Regions from separate parts of the Homo sapiens genome. Here region 2 is linked to region 1. The links are contacts of gene promoters, found by promoter capture Hi-C in human tissues and cell types (Jung and others, 2019). All regions are on one chromosome and are shown on one strand. The core of a region is centred on a gene start or on the middle of the fragment in contact, and the rest is flanking DNA. Distances in the headings are between cores, read along the strand shown.

Region 1 (6,360 bases), core at 2,068-4,567:
GACACCTGTATCCGGTCTTCGGGGAGCTCAGTTTTCACAGCCAGCATTTCTCGGGCATACACATCAGGGTAGTGGGCCTCGCTGAATGCCTTCTCCAACTCTTCCAGCTGGTGAGCAGTGAAAACTGTCCTGCAAGGACCCCAAAACACACAGGTGGGCACATGTCCCCTGGGGACAGCAGCCTCCCTGGCCTTAAGGACCACCGTGCCTGCTTCCTCTGCTGTCCAGACCCTAGAAGCCACTTCATGATAATGGAACACCCCACCTCTGAATGATTAGCTGATGTCCAGAAATTTGATTCAAACGAAAACAGTTCTTTAGCTCTTTCTTAATGAATTCCATCAGCTCATTCTGACAAAATCCATTTGACAGATCCACAAAATTGTCTTTAAAATGCTCCCAAAAAAATGCTAGCAAGATTGTAGCATTTTCCCAGCCTCCTAGGAACTGCAGAATTATCTTCCCAAATGGCTTCTGTGCCCTTCCCATTGCCAACCAGGAAACCACTGGGCCTGCTATCATGCCGGGCCATAAATTCTCAGATGCAGGTGCCATAAACCTTGGGCTGTGTCCCGAGGAAAGGCAGGCAGAGGGGACTGCCTGGCCCTATACCTGTGCCGCCGCTTCTTCCTCTTGCCCAAGGTGGGGGATGCCTTTAGGTCATTCCTGTCTTCAGACTGGCTGTCCTCATCTGATGGCACAGAAAGAAGAAGAGGACTTTAAGGGTGATCATATCCCCTCTATTTCCTGGATTTTAATGTGAGGATTGAAGTTATGAACCTCTTGGGTACTTAAGTAGTTTACAGTATGAGCCAGCATTTTTAGTGCCTACTAGATCCCAGGCTCTGTGCTTAACACTGTCCATACATTATCTCAAGTATTCTTAATATAATAATAAAACACCAAAATGGCTGCTGCTATTATTATCATCCTATTTTTACAGATGAGGAAACTGAGGCACCGAATGGTTAAGTAATTTGCCCAAAATCACACAGGTAGTAAATGGTGAAGTTGAGAATTCAAATCCCAGATTATCTGAAGCCAAAACTACTCAGCCACTGATTGCACTTTCTATCCCCACACTGCTTCCAAACACATCCACCCCTATGCCCCCAGCCTCATCATCTTAACCTCTACACCAACATTTCCCAAAGGAAGTCTGGGGCTTGTGACATCAGAACCCTCGTCAGAACTGCAACCCTTCCCTGATGCACCAAATCAGAATCTCTGGAGGTGGGATCTAGGAGGCTCATTCTTGACAAGTGTGCTCAGATGATGTGTAGTTGCCCTTGAAAATTTGAGAACCACTCCACTGTGCTTTACCTTTTTATATCCAATACATCAAAAAGTCTAGATGGAAAAGAAGGTTAGAAGGCCAAACTATTGTGAGATTCATTGCTAGAAGGCATAATTGCCTCAAAATATCTTTAAAATGAATAAAGGCAAAAATAACTAAATAATACTAGTTTTACTCATCCATCAATTAGTTCACCAGAAACCTGGCTTGGATTAAAACATTCTGTATTGGGCTGTCCAACCTGATGAGACATGAGACACATAAGGTTATTAAGCACATGAAATGTGGCCAGTAAGATCAAGACATGCTGTAAACATAAATCACTTAATGGAGTTAGAAGACTTAGTGCTCCTAAAAAGTAAAATATTTTTGTATTGATTATGTGTAAAATGATAATATTTGCTATCATTGTTGGGTTAAAATATAGTATTTAGATTCATTTCACTTTTAATGTGACTGTGAGAAATTTCCGTCAAACATGAAATCACATTTCATTTTTCTTGGACAGCTCTGCTCCAGACTTTCAGAAATGCTGGCAGAGTTGGATTTAGCTGCCTTTGGTTTTGTAAGAAAGAACCCATCCCATGAAAACAGTTTTGCATTTTTAGTGACACTAATAGGGAGTTTCATTTTATCTTACGTAGAGCTCATGAAATAAAGTCCTTTTAGAGTGGAGCAAAAACCTGCCTGCCTATTGATCTGACATGCTTCCTTTTAGTATCAGAAGACCCAGTCTACTCTTTTTGCCTTGGCTGCCTGGATGCTCAGCTCTAGATTCTACCACATACCATCCTTTCTTGTGTAATTCTTTCTTTTCTCTCCCACACCCAAAACCACTCGTTTCCTTAGCCCTTGTCCTTTATAGAATTTCATTGCTTCCTTCTCTTTCCCCGCGACCCGTCTGGATTTCTTTGGGGAAATGGGTAGGCCAGGAACACATCTCTAGGCGTAACTACAATGAATCCCCAAGGTTGCTTCTTTCTCCTGCACAGGGGACTGGGAGGACGCTGCGCCGGCAGAGGAGCGCGGTACCCGGGACTCCCTTTTCAGCACCCCAAGGGGCGGACAGTTCCAGGGCTCGAGGCCCCGTACTCTTCCAGGACCCGTCAATCATTCGATCATTTCCGCCCGCGTTTCCACCTGGTACCTTGTTCGGTGCTGCTGGTGACCACCACAGGCCCGGGCCTTCCCGACCCACGCAGCTGCCAGAGGCGGAGACTGGCGCCTGGCGCTGGGGGGAAAAATGGCCCTCTGGAGATGGTTGTTGAAGACCCCAGGGTCTCATCAAAAGGTTCCACCCGGAACCAGGTGGTGGCGGTCTCACATCGCTGAGGGAACAGGACCCCGGATGAGAGGCAGGGATTTAGGATGCAGCAAGGGGCAGGCGGCGCAGCTCCGCGAATGCCCCTCCCGCGACGGGGCCTCGCTCTGGGCTCCCCGCCTAGATCTGGGCCGCTGGGGCCAGGGGTGCGGTGGGGCGATGGTCTGTGACCCCTGCGCGGCTCAGAGCCTAGGGGACAGGGGCAGGAGCGGAAAGCGCGGGCCTGATTACCGGACGTGGAGACGCTGTCGCTGCGCTTCTGGCGGCCGAGCGCAGGCGGCGGACGGCTGGGAGCCAGCGGGGCAGCGGGCTCGGGGCCCCTGGGCGGCAGGAACGGCACGTCCGCTAGGAGCAGGCAGGGTGCTCGAGCGGCCGCCGGCGGCTGCGTGCCGAAGCCACAGAGGAGGCCGAGTCCCAGCGGTAGGGCCCCACGCGCCAGGCTGGAGCCGTCAAGCCCCGGGCCCGGGCACGGCGCGACTGCCGGACCCTCGCAGCCAGATCCCTGTCCTGGGCCAGCGGGCGCCGGCAGCTCGGCCTCCAAGCCCAGCAGGTCCGTGATGGCGAAGCCCCGGGGGCGCGAGCCCCTAGGGGAACCGCCAGGCACCAGCGCCCTGCTGCTAGTGCGCCCGTCGGAAAGCGAGTCCCGGCCGGTCATGGTTCCTTAGCAAGCAAGGCGCGAGCCTCTCTGGATCCCGTTTGCGGAGGGCCCAGCTTAGAGGAAGCTTTATAGGATTGGGCTGCCGGTCGGGCGCGGGAGGCCTGAAGGGCTCCAATCAGCTGGGCGCGGGCGCGTCGCCGTTCCGGACCCCGCGAGATGGGGACGCCACCAGTTCCCCTCCCCTCGGTTACCGCCCACCCAGCTGCAGTCCCCTCAGTCACCTCCTTCTCCTCCTCTCTTCTGTCCAGCCCACCCCACCCCACCCCACCCCCATTCTAGGAGGGAGGGGAGGAAAGAAGGTAAGGGACAGTGACTCCGCTGTCTGCCTGTCCCTCGAAAAGTCGCAAGTTCTACATCCTGGCGTGGCCTTCTCCTTCCTTCCAGACTCTCTGGGTGGAGGCCCCACTCCCAGCTGCCCTGAAGCTTCTTTGATGCGACCCAACTGCCTATTAAGACCTAGGACCCCATTCCCAACCACACCCCGATGGCTACCCCATATATGTCCCCAGCCAGCCCTCCACCTCCGCCGCCGGTGCCACGAAGGCCTTCCTGTAAGAAGGCCTTCTCTGAAAATCCCCAAGGGGAAAGGAATGAAAACCGTGTATTTAATCCATGGTCATCCTACCTCCATCCCTTTAATCCATGGTCATTCTACCTCCATCCAAATCCACCCCCAGGTCCATCCCCAACACTCCACGGGCTGAACTGTAGGGGGTGGCAGACTCACAAGAGCTGGGGAAAGGGAGAGAAGCAGAGAGAGGAGTGGACTGCCCGGGGCTGAGACGGGCAGGGTACCAGGTTTAACCAACAAAACACTGTCGGCTCAGTGAAATGTGATTTCAGATAAAAAAGGAGGGCTTTTTTTTTTTGTAGGAGTATGTATCAGTATTTTATCCAGCAACCCTAAATTGGGGAGGAGTGGAGGGAGGTAAATTGAAATAAAATAGAGTCTGTCTACTGGAAAGCACACCTTTTCATCGGGGCTTACAATTTATTGTCCAATTTCACGATTATTCAAAGAAAGCCTGATTCTTTGAATAATCAGTGAAACTCTGATATTCGCTAAAGTTGGCCCCAAGCACGTGGGTAAGTAACTACTGGTTCGCGCTTTGAACCCAACCAGCCCTCATCGCTCGGAGCCCTGCGTCCCCCGCTTCCCAATCCCAGAACCCCGGAAGCAGATCTCCTCAGTCCCACTCCCTGAGGGTCCTACAGTCCGAGGTCCCGCAGCGAGGGAGGAGCAAACGCCTGAGCTCCGCGGGAACCCGGCGCGGCTGCCTGCGCGCACGCAGGGACCGGAGCCCGAGCCTGGGCCCTGCAAAGTGGGTCTCCCACTCGCTGCGCGTTCGAGTGGGGCCTCCGCTAAACATGCAGATTAAACAAGGGGCTTCCGATAAGGATAATTACAGGAGGCTGCGCATTGACTTTCCGTTACTAAAGGAAGACCCAAATCTCCCCCTTGCAAGCTGTTCCCGGGATTACCAAAACAATCACTTTCTTTTGAGATCATTGTCTTTTGAACCACTCCAGCTCGGGGCAGAACGCTTTAGACGCTGGCGTTGTTTTCCGCTCCGCGAGGAATTTTCCCCCAGATTTATCTCTGGGTTTAGGGAAGGCGTTGGGCATTCGGGACTGCGTAGTCGTTTGTAAATCCGAATTTGGGGTAGCAGTTAAGTGAGATACCTACGCTTCCACACAGTTTGTAGCCCGAGACCAGTCAGGCAGGCAGGGTAGTCGATTCTAAGGTGGCCCGACCGGGGTCGCCCGCGAATGGAAAGCCTAAGGGGCGAGGGCGGACGCGGGCGCCGTGCCTGCAGCCCCGGGTGCCGACCAAGTGGCCTCACCTGGGACAGGTCTTGGGGTCTCCCTCCCCTAGGTCTCCCTGGAAGGTAGGCGATCACGGGAGTGACAGACCCCGAGTAGATAGCCAGTGATCCAAAGACACCAAAAGGCCAGGCGGTAGGAGCCCAGCCTCAGACACTCTCTATAGTGACCGCGGCGCCTCGGGAAGGATCGTCTTAAACTCATTTTGCAGGTGAGAGCAACTGGGACTTATTAACCCAGTCACATCGGACACAGAGACGTGGCGAGGGCGACACAGAGCAGGAGACTCAATCAAGGAGCCCGTATTGGAGCTCTAAGGGGACTCAGAGATGCAGAAGGAACGAACTTCTAAGGGGTCTTGCAATTCCTGGACTGGGGCGTTCCTAATGCATCCCGGGACCCCAATGCCAGGGAGGGGCCTGCAGGACCCCAGCGGTGGGCGAGTTGTGTCCTGGGTCACCTTGTGTTTCGCAGCGTGGCGGTGGCAGGAGCCCAGCGCGGGAGGACATTTTCATAGCCTCCTACAGTGAGAAACGCCCCCCACCCGACGCTGCGCTCATCTGTGTCCCCGCTGTTGCCGGGGCTCTGGTATCCACTTGCGCGCCCTATGTGGTGGGGATCCACCCAGAGCCCAGCGTCAAGTTATACGGGCGCTTCACTCAGCGTCAGCCAAGACCAGGGAAGCGCTTCTTGCCGTTTAGGAGACGTCTGCAAGAGATAAAAAGCTAGCCCACGATCCACCCACAATCCTCGTGTCCCCGGGGTGCCCTCGCAGTTGCCAAACCTACGGGCCGCGTTTAGGGGAAGCCTCCGCGTCCTGGCGGCCAAAAGAATGGGCTCCTTCCAGCTTCCCCCTACCGGATACCACCTGCAAATCTATTGCCAGAGGCGCAGCTCCCGCGAACGTTCCCGCCCCGGGCGGCCCCCAGGAGTCGTTTTGGGTCCCTAAATCCGTTGAGGGTTCCGAATCTGTCTTCATCAGCCAGGATTACCCGGGATTTAACTAATGAATAAAGGTTCCTCAGCTCATTATTTTCTAAGGAAGATTTCCAGCCCCTCTGTCGCCGACCGCGAATGTGCCTTGGCAGCGCCAGGCTGAGGTTGGACCTGCTGTGAGTGGCTCAGCAGGCACCCCTCTTGGGCTTCTCAGAGCCGCGGCTGGCCAGGCTGGCGCGATAAAGTGCTCAGACACAATGGGGTGGGATGCCCCGAGAAGGTGAAACGGATCGCCCTGTGAGTCTGCAGAAATGACCCCCCACG
Region 2 (6,360 bases), core at 2,726-5,225, 81 kb after region 1:
GCCTTGCAGCCATCTCAGGTTGTCATTGTGAACATTGGTCATAGTTTAATAAAACTGGGGAAAAGCTGAAGTCAGCTTAAAAGAATTCTGAAGAATAAGATTTACTATTATTACCTTGGGAAGACTTGAGCTACCTTAGAAACAAGAAACAAAACCTAATAACATTTAAAGTTACAGCAGAAAAAATCCAGTCAACCTGAAATTTTTTTTAATGACAACTTTTCAGTTAGAATTTTTGTTTTGAGAAAAATAAGCTTAGTATAGAAATAAGATAAGAAAAAGACATAAGAGATAAGAAATAAGATAAGAAAAATAAGTTTAGTATAGAAATAAGATAGCCAATTCCTTTTCCATAAAATCAGTAAGTGATAGTAAATCTGTCCATTATGTTAAAGACCACCAAAAATGGAATTGCTGCCATGCATTTGAAATAGGAAATTGTTACGGACATTTTAATGTGCAAAAGGTTTTGTCCTGCAGTAGCCCCTGAGGCATTAATATTTTGTTTTGCAGGAAGTTGACTCTCTATTAGGATATACCTATTTTTAAAGATTAGTAACTAATCATAATTTCCTTAATAAGGGAGGAAGTACCAAATTTCAAGACAGCCGTTAAGATAATTCATTCAGATTTTTCACAAAGAATTTTCTAGCTGTTTCCACACAGTCTATGGAAAACTCACCCTTTAGGGATAAAACACTTGAGAACAATTGAAGTGTACAGTATAATCCTGAAATAACCCAGTGATTATTTTACAAAAAAATCTCTATGTCAACAAGAAAAATAACCTTTGGGATAATAGTAAAATAAAGGAACAAAATGAACATAAGTGACTCCAAAGCTGAATTTACCTGAACTTCTTCAGAAACTTCATTTTATGTCATCCAGGTCTGAGTTAATTAAAGGGACCTGTGAAAACAATAGCATGTGTGTTGTTTTTGTGAAAAGAAAAAAACAGTTTCCTTTATTTGAGGTCTAAAGTATTTTTCTCTTCCTCCATTCTTCCTCTTTAATGGGTAGTAAATTCTTACGATATGTCAGTAAGTTACAATTCATAAGCTCTTCACGGGTGGGTATGTCTTGTGTATTCTAGCCCATTAAGGAATAAATTTCCACAGCAGGCTTGTTTTTCCCTTAAGATAATTAATTAGCTAACCAGTTTAGGAAGAAAGAAGTTGCAGAAGGGAGGACAAAGCACCGGTGATCTCACTTCTCAGTTTCAATAATTTGAAATTATGACTCATCAGAGAAAATGACTGATACTCTGCTTATCAGAACACTGCTAACTTTCTATTGATGAATGTAAGTCATAGCCACCAAGGAAAAAATGAAGAGCCACCTGGCAGAGACAAATATATTGTGGCCAGAAGAAAGAGACTATTCTGAGACACACATAGCTCTTTGACTTCTTTGATCCCTAGGGAATACTTCAAAATTTGCAGAAATGAAAAGCAGCAGACGTCTTCTGGAGGAGAATCAATCTGATTTTCAAATTTAATGGCCAAAAAGATGGCATTCGTACTTGGCCTCACATCTAAATTAGTTAGAACTTCAAAAATGCTAACTTTCCTAGTTCCAAGAAGCAAGCATTCATTTTCCTCTTTGACTGTCTCATACTGGTTAAAATTCAGTGTTTCTAGAGACTTCAATCATCAGTTCTGCTAAACAAGGTAACGTTATCATTGTATCCAGGGCTGAACACTCCAAGTTCTCTAGTAAAACAGGACTGCTCTCATTGCCATTCAGAGAGATGACTTCTTTCTTAGCAGTGGATGTCAGCTTACTCCAGGTAATGTCAGTATTTTTAAAAGCATGTAGAAGAAAGATGCCAAGGATAATAGTGAAGAATCCATTCAGGGTCTCGATGATATCTCCAGTTTTCATGCCATACCACTCTTGGAGTAAGATGGCAGAGCAAGTCACTACCATGGATGTGAAGAACGCAAAATAAATGGGAGTCACAGGAGATGTATTCACGGTGTCTGGTGCCTTGAGATAGTTAATCTGTGTAGTCACCAAAAACACAAGTATAGCCAGCAAAACAATGACCAGGGGATGCTTCTAAACTGGCTTCCATTCTAGTAATTCCTTAATGGCAATACCCAGGCCTTTGGCAGGAGAAATTGAAAATGCTGCAGCCAAAGAACAGATTGAAATATAGACCAATATATTGGTCTGTCCTTTCTTGGGAGCCACAATCAAAATCAGCACCAAGATCACAATTATGATCACAGCAAAGGAAATAAATCCTGGGTCTCTCAATTTCATTTCCATTTCATGCAAAGAAGTGACTTCCTCTTCTTCTGGGGCATGGATAACCATCACAGTTGACCCCAATATGCAGCCTGTTTTCCCATAAATGTTCAAGTGCTCGTTTAAAAAATAGGAAGATAATATTGCACTTATGAGAACACTCAGAGGGCCGGGGGGGTGAGGGTGACCAAGATGGCAGGTGCAAAAGCATAAGCAGCAAAATGTGCAGCCTCTCCTGCTCCCATGGCCAGCACTCCTGTCCCCCAGAGCCATCCTTCAGGTCAGAATGTCCACCTTGTCCAGCTCCAGTGATGCTTTTGTTGGCCAGTTGCAAAAGACCCTTCTTTTTCAATATGAAGCTGGAGCCATATCCTTCTCGGCAGGGCTCTCTGTGCCACAGCCTCACATGTGCCCCCATGTCCCCAGACGGGGCTCCAGGATGCAGACGCTCTTTCCTCAGCCACCTGGGCCTCTCCTCCCCATGGACCTGCCAGATTGTTGTTAATTCTTTTTTTAAAGAAAACCACTCTATTGAGGTAAAATGAACATACAAAAAGCTGTATATATTTAATGTATACATTTCGATAAGTTTGGGGATACGTATGTACCTGTGAAATCATCACCACCATCAAGGCCATAAACACATCCATCACCTCCCAAAGTTTTCTCCCACCCCTTTATTATTATTATTATTATTATTATTATTATTATTATTATTATTGAGACAGTCTTGCTCTGTCACACACGCTGGAGTGCAGTGGCACGATCATGGCTCACTGCAACCTCTGCCTCCCAGGCTCAAGTGATCCTCCCACAGCAGCCTCCTGAGCAGCTGGGATCACAGGCACAGGCCACTATGCCCAGCTAATTTTTGTATTTTTAGTAGAGACACGGTTTCACCATGTTGGCCAGGATGGTCTCAAACTCCTGACCTCAAGTGATCCACCTACCTTGGCCTCCCAAAGTGCTGGGATTACAGCTGTGAACCACTGCACCCAGCCCCTTTATTATTTGTATTTGGATTTTGTTTTCATCACTGTTTTGATAATAACACTTACCATAAGATCAACTTGCCTTAGTAAATTTTAGGTATACAATGCAGTATTGTTACCTATAGGCATCATGCCACACAAATCTCCAGAGCTCATTCATCCTGGATAACTGAAGCTTCGTACCTTCTGATCATCATCTCCTCATTTCCCCCTCCCCACAGCCCATGAAAACCACCATTCTACTCTCTGCTTTTGAGTTTGATTATTTTAGAGTCCACATTGCTATGGTTTGAATGATGGCATCCCCTCCAAAATTTATGTTGAAGCCATCCCCAGTGCAGTAGTATTAAGAGGTATGGTCTTTGGGATGTGATTAAGTCATGAGGGCTCTACTTTTATGGATGGGATTAGCACCCTTATTAAAAGGCTCAAGGTCAAAAGGAGTGCTCTTTCACCCTTCTATCTTCCTCCATGTGAGGACACATGCATCCCTCTGGAGGAAGCAGCAACAAGACACCATCTTGGAAGCAGGGAGCAGCCTTCATCAGACACCAATGCTAGTGTCTTGATCTTGGACTTCCCAGCCTCCAGAAACATAAGAAATAAATTTTTGTTGCTTATAAGTTACCCAGTCCCAGATATTTTGTTATAGCAGCACAAATGGACTAAGATACATCCATAAATGAGATCCTGCCGCATTTGTCTTTCTGTGCCTGGCTTACTTTGCTTAACATAATGTCCTCTGGGTCAATCTATGTTGTCACAAATGGCAGGATTTCCTTCTTTTTAAGGACTAAATAATATTCCTTTGCATGTGTATACTATAATTTCTTTTTATTAAGTGAAATCAAGTCTATTAAGGAAGTAAAGGAATATAAGAATGGCTACTCCATAGGCAGAGCAGCCCTGAGGCTGCTGGTTGGCTGTTTTTATGGTTATTTCCTGATTATAGGCTAAACAAGGGATGGATTATTCATGAGTTTTTGAGGAAAGGGGTGGGCAATTACCAGAACTGAGGGTTCCTCCCGTTTTTAGACCATATAGGGAAACTTCCTGACATTGTCATGGCATTTATAAACTGTTGTGGTGTTGGTGGGATGTCTCTTAGCATGCTAACACATTATAATTAGTGTATAATGAGCCAGAGGTCACTTTCATTGCCCTCTTGGTTTTGGTAGGTTTTGGCCAGCTTCTTTACTGCACTCTTTTATCAGCAAAGTTTTTGTAACCTGTATCTTGTGCCAACCCCCTATCTCATCCTGTGACTTAGAATGCCCCACCTCCTGGGAATGCAGCTCCATGGGTCTCAGCCTTATTTTACCCAACCCCTATTCAAGATTGAGTTGCTCTGGTTCAAACACCTCTGGCATATTTCCCCCCTCCCTTTTACAAGGGAACCTTTAATCCTAAAGGCTGTAAGCAGATGAAGATCTATCTTCTTTAACTTCTTCAGGCTGAATAGGGGCAATGATATTCCTGCCTAACTATTAGGGCATCTCATACCCAGGGTAGAGAGGAGCTGAGTCAGAAAGCATCGGTATGGTGAAAAACAGTTCAAAAACAACTGATAAGACTAGAATCTGATAACAAGTGTACCACAGTTTTTGAAACATAATTTTTCTCTCCCCTGTCTCACATTTTTACTAAAGACAAATCATGGTAGAATGAATTTGTTTGCAAAAATAAGCTTTAGTCTTATACTTGGCCAGATTATTTGTAAAGTGCAGCAAGAATAATTTTCACATAGGCTTTTTTAATTGGCTTTGATGGAACATTGTTCCATAAAATGAATCTCAGATAAGACTTTTTACGAAGCCAAGCGCAGCCTTGAGTTTGTACCCTCAAATACCTATAAGTTGGGAAATTCCTTTTCTCTTGTGGTCACAAGGTAATTTGGGGCTCCTGGGCCTGTTAGAAAGTGACATACTTGGCCAGGCATGGTGGCTCATGCCTGTAATCCCAGCACTTTGGGACGCCAAGGAAGGCACATCATGAGGTCAGGAGTTTGAGACCAGCCTGGCCAATATGGTGAAACCCTATCTCTACTAAAAATACAAAAATTAGTTGGGCATGGTGGTGTGCACCTGTAGTCCCAGCTACTTGGGAGGCTGAAAGAGCAGAATCGCTTGAACCTGGGAGGCAGAGGTTGCAGTGAGCTGATATTGCACCACTGCACTCCAGGCTGGGTGACAGAGTGAGACTCCATCTCAAAAAAAAAAATAGTGACATTCTTTACTTACCACAGGTTGGAAACCCTGTACAGGGACTATGCAGACAATGTATGAGGCCAATTTTCCAAGGGGCTTTTATTGGCTCTATAAGTCAATTTTGATTCTTAAAAGGAAAACATGCCATTCCAGTCAAAGCCTTGGTAAATTAAGTAGTTTCTCCAATTGCATCCTGTTACAAAAGAAAACAGATTATTATTGCACTTATGCAAATAACTATATTGCCACAAGTTAAGAATACTCAGAAATAGTTTTCAAATTCTGGAGAAGTCAGGTAGAGAGAAACAAATATGCTCCAAATTTTGTTCACAGGAGTATACCTTTCTCAATTGTTAAAAGCTGTATATAGCTCAAAAGAAAAGTTTCTTTGACTCTGGAAAACAAAACAAAGGATCCTCAGCATTTCAAGTAAAAATTTTCAAAAAGATTACTTCAGTTTTCTATTAGATCAGTCCATGCAGTTACCTCTTGTTCTGTTTGATATTCATGAACATTTCAGCTCTCCAGGAGAGTTCTAAAAGTTTTTTTCCCCTATTTTAATGTCACAGTCTCCAAAGTTATCAGAAACCTGCATACAGGAACATCTGTCAAAGTCCTATAGCTGATTATAAACCACATTTTAAAGAGGATCAAAACAAGACAATTGTCTGTGAGTGACAAAAAAATCTTAGGACAGTCACTATTAAAGCCAAAATTGACTAAGAAATTTGGTTACTTCTTGCTGGCTGTCAAGATGGCTGAATAGGAATAGCTCCAGTCTGTAGCTCCCAGTGAGATCAATGCAGGAAGTGGGTGATTTCTGCATTTCCAACTGAGGTACCCAGCTCATCTCATTGGGACTGGTTAGACAGTTGGGCGCAGCCCACAGAAGGCAAGCCAAAGCACGA

The links. Contacts are between HindIII fragments. The study calls those that stand out against the background at their distance.
Region 2: a contact is called between a fragment that was not itself captured here and the fragment with the promoter of VSX1 in region 1, in 2 of the 25 tissues and cell types used here (aorta and neural progenitor cells).

The regions. Positions count from the first base shown.
Region 1 is chr20:25,078,824-25,085,183 of GRCh38, forward strand. It overlaps VSX1 (visual system homeobox 1), which reads right to left and starts at 3,318. Exons shown (of 5, transcript NM_014588.6): 1 at 2,850-3,318; 2 at 613-691; 3 at 6-129. The coding sequence starts at 3,273. RefSeq lists enhancers at 3,307-3,836, 4,600-5,204, 5,205-5,810. The HindIII fragment of the contact is 6,188 bases long and covers 1,021-6,360 here.
Region 2 is chr20:25,159,442-25,165,801 of GRCh38, forward strand. It overlaps the pseudogene NIPAL1P1. Among named protein-coding and RNA genes, the nearest start is that of ENTPD6, 33 kb to the right of the region's middle. The HindIII fragment of the contact is 4,276 bases long and covers 1,838-6,113 here.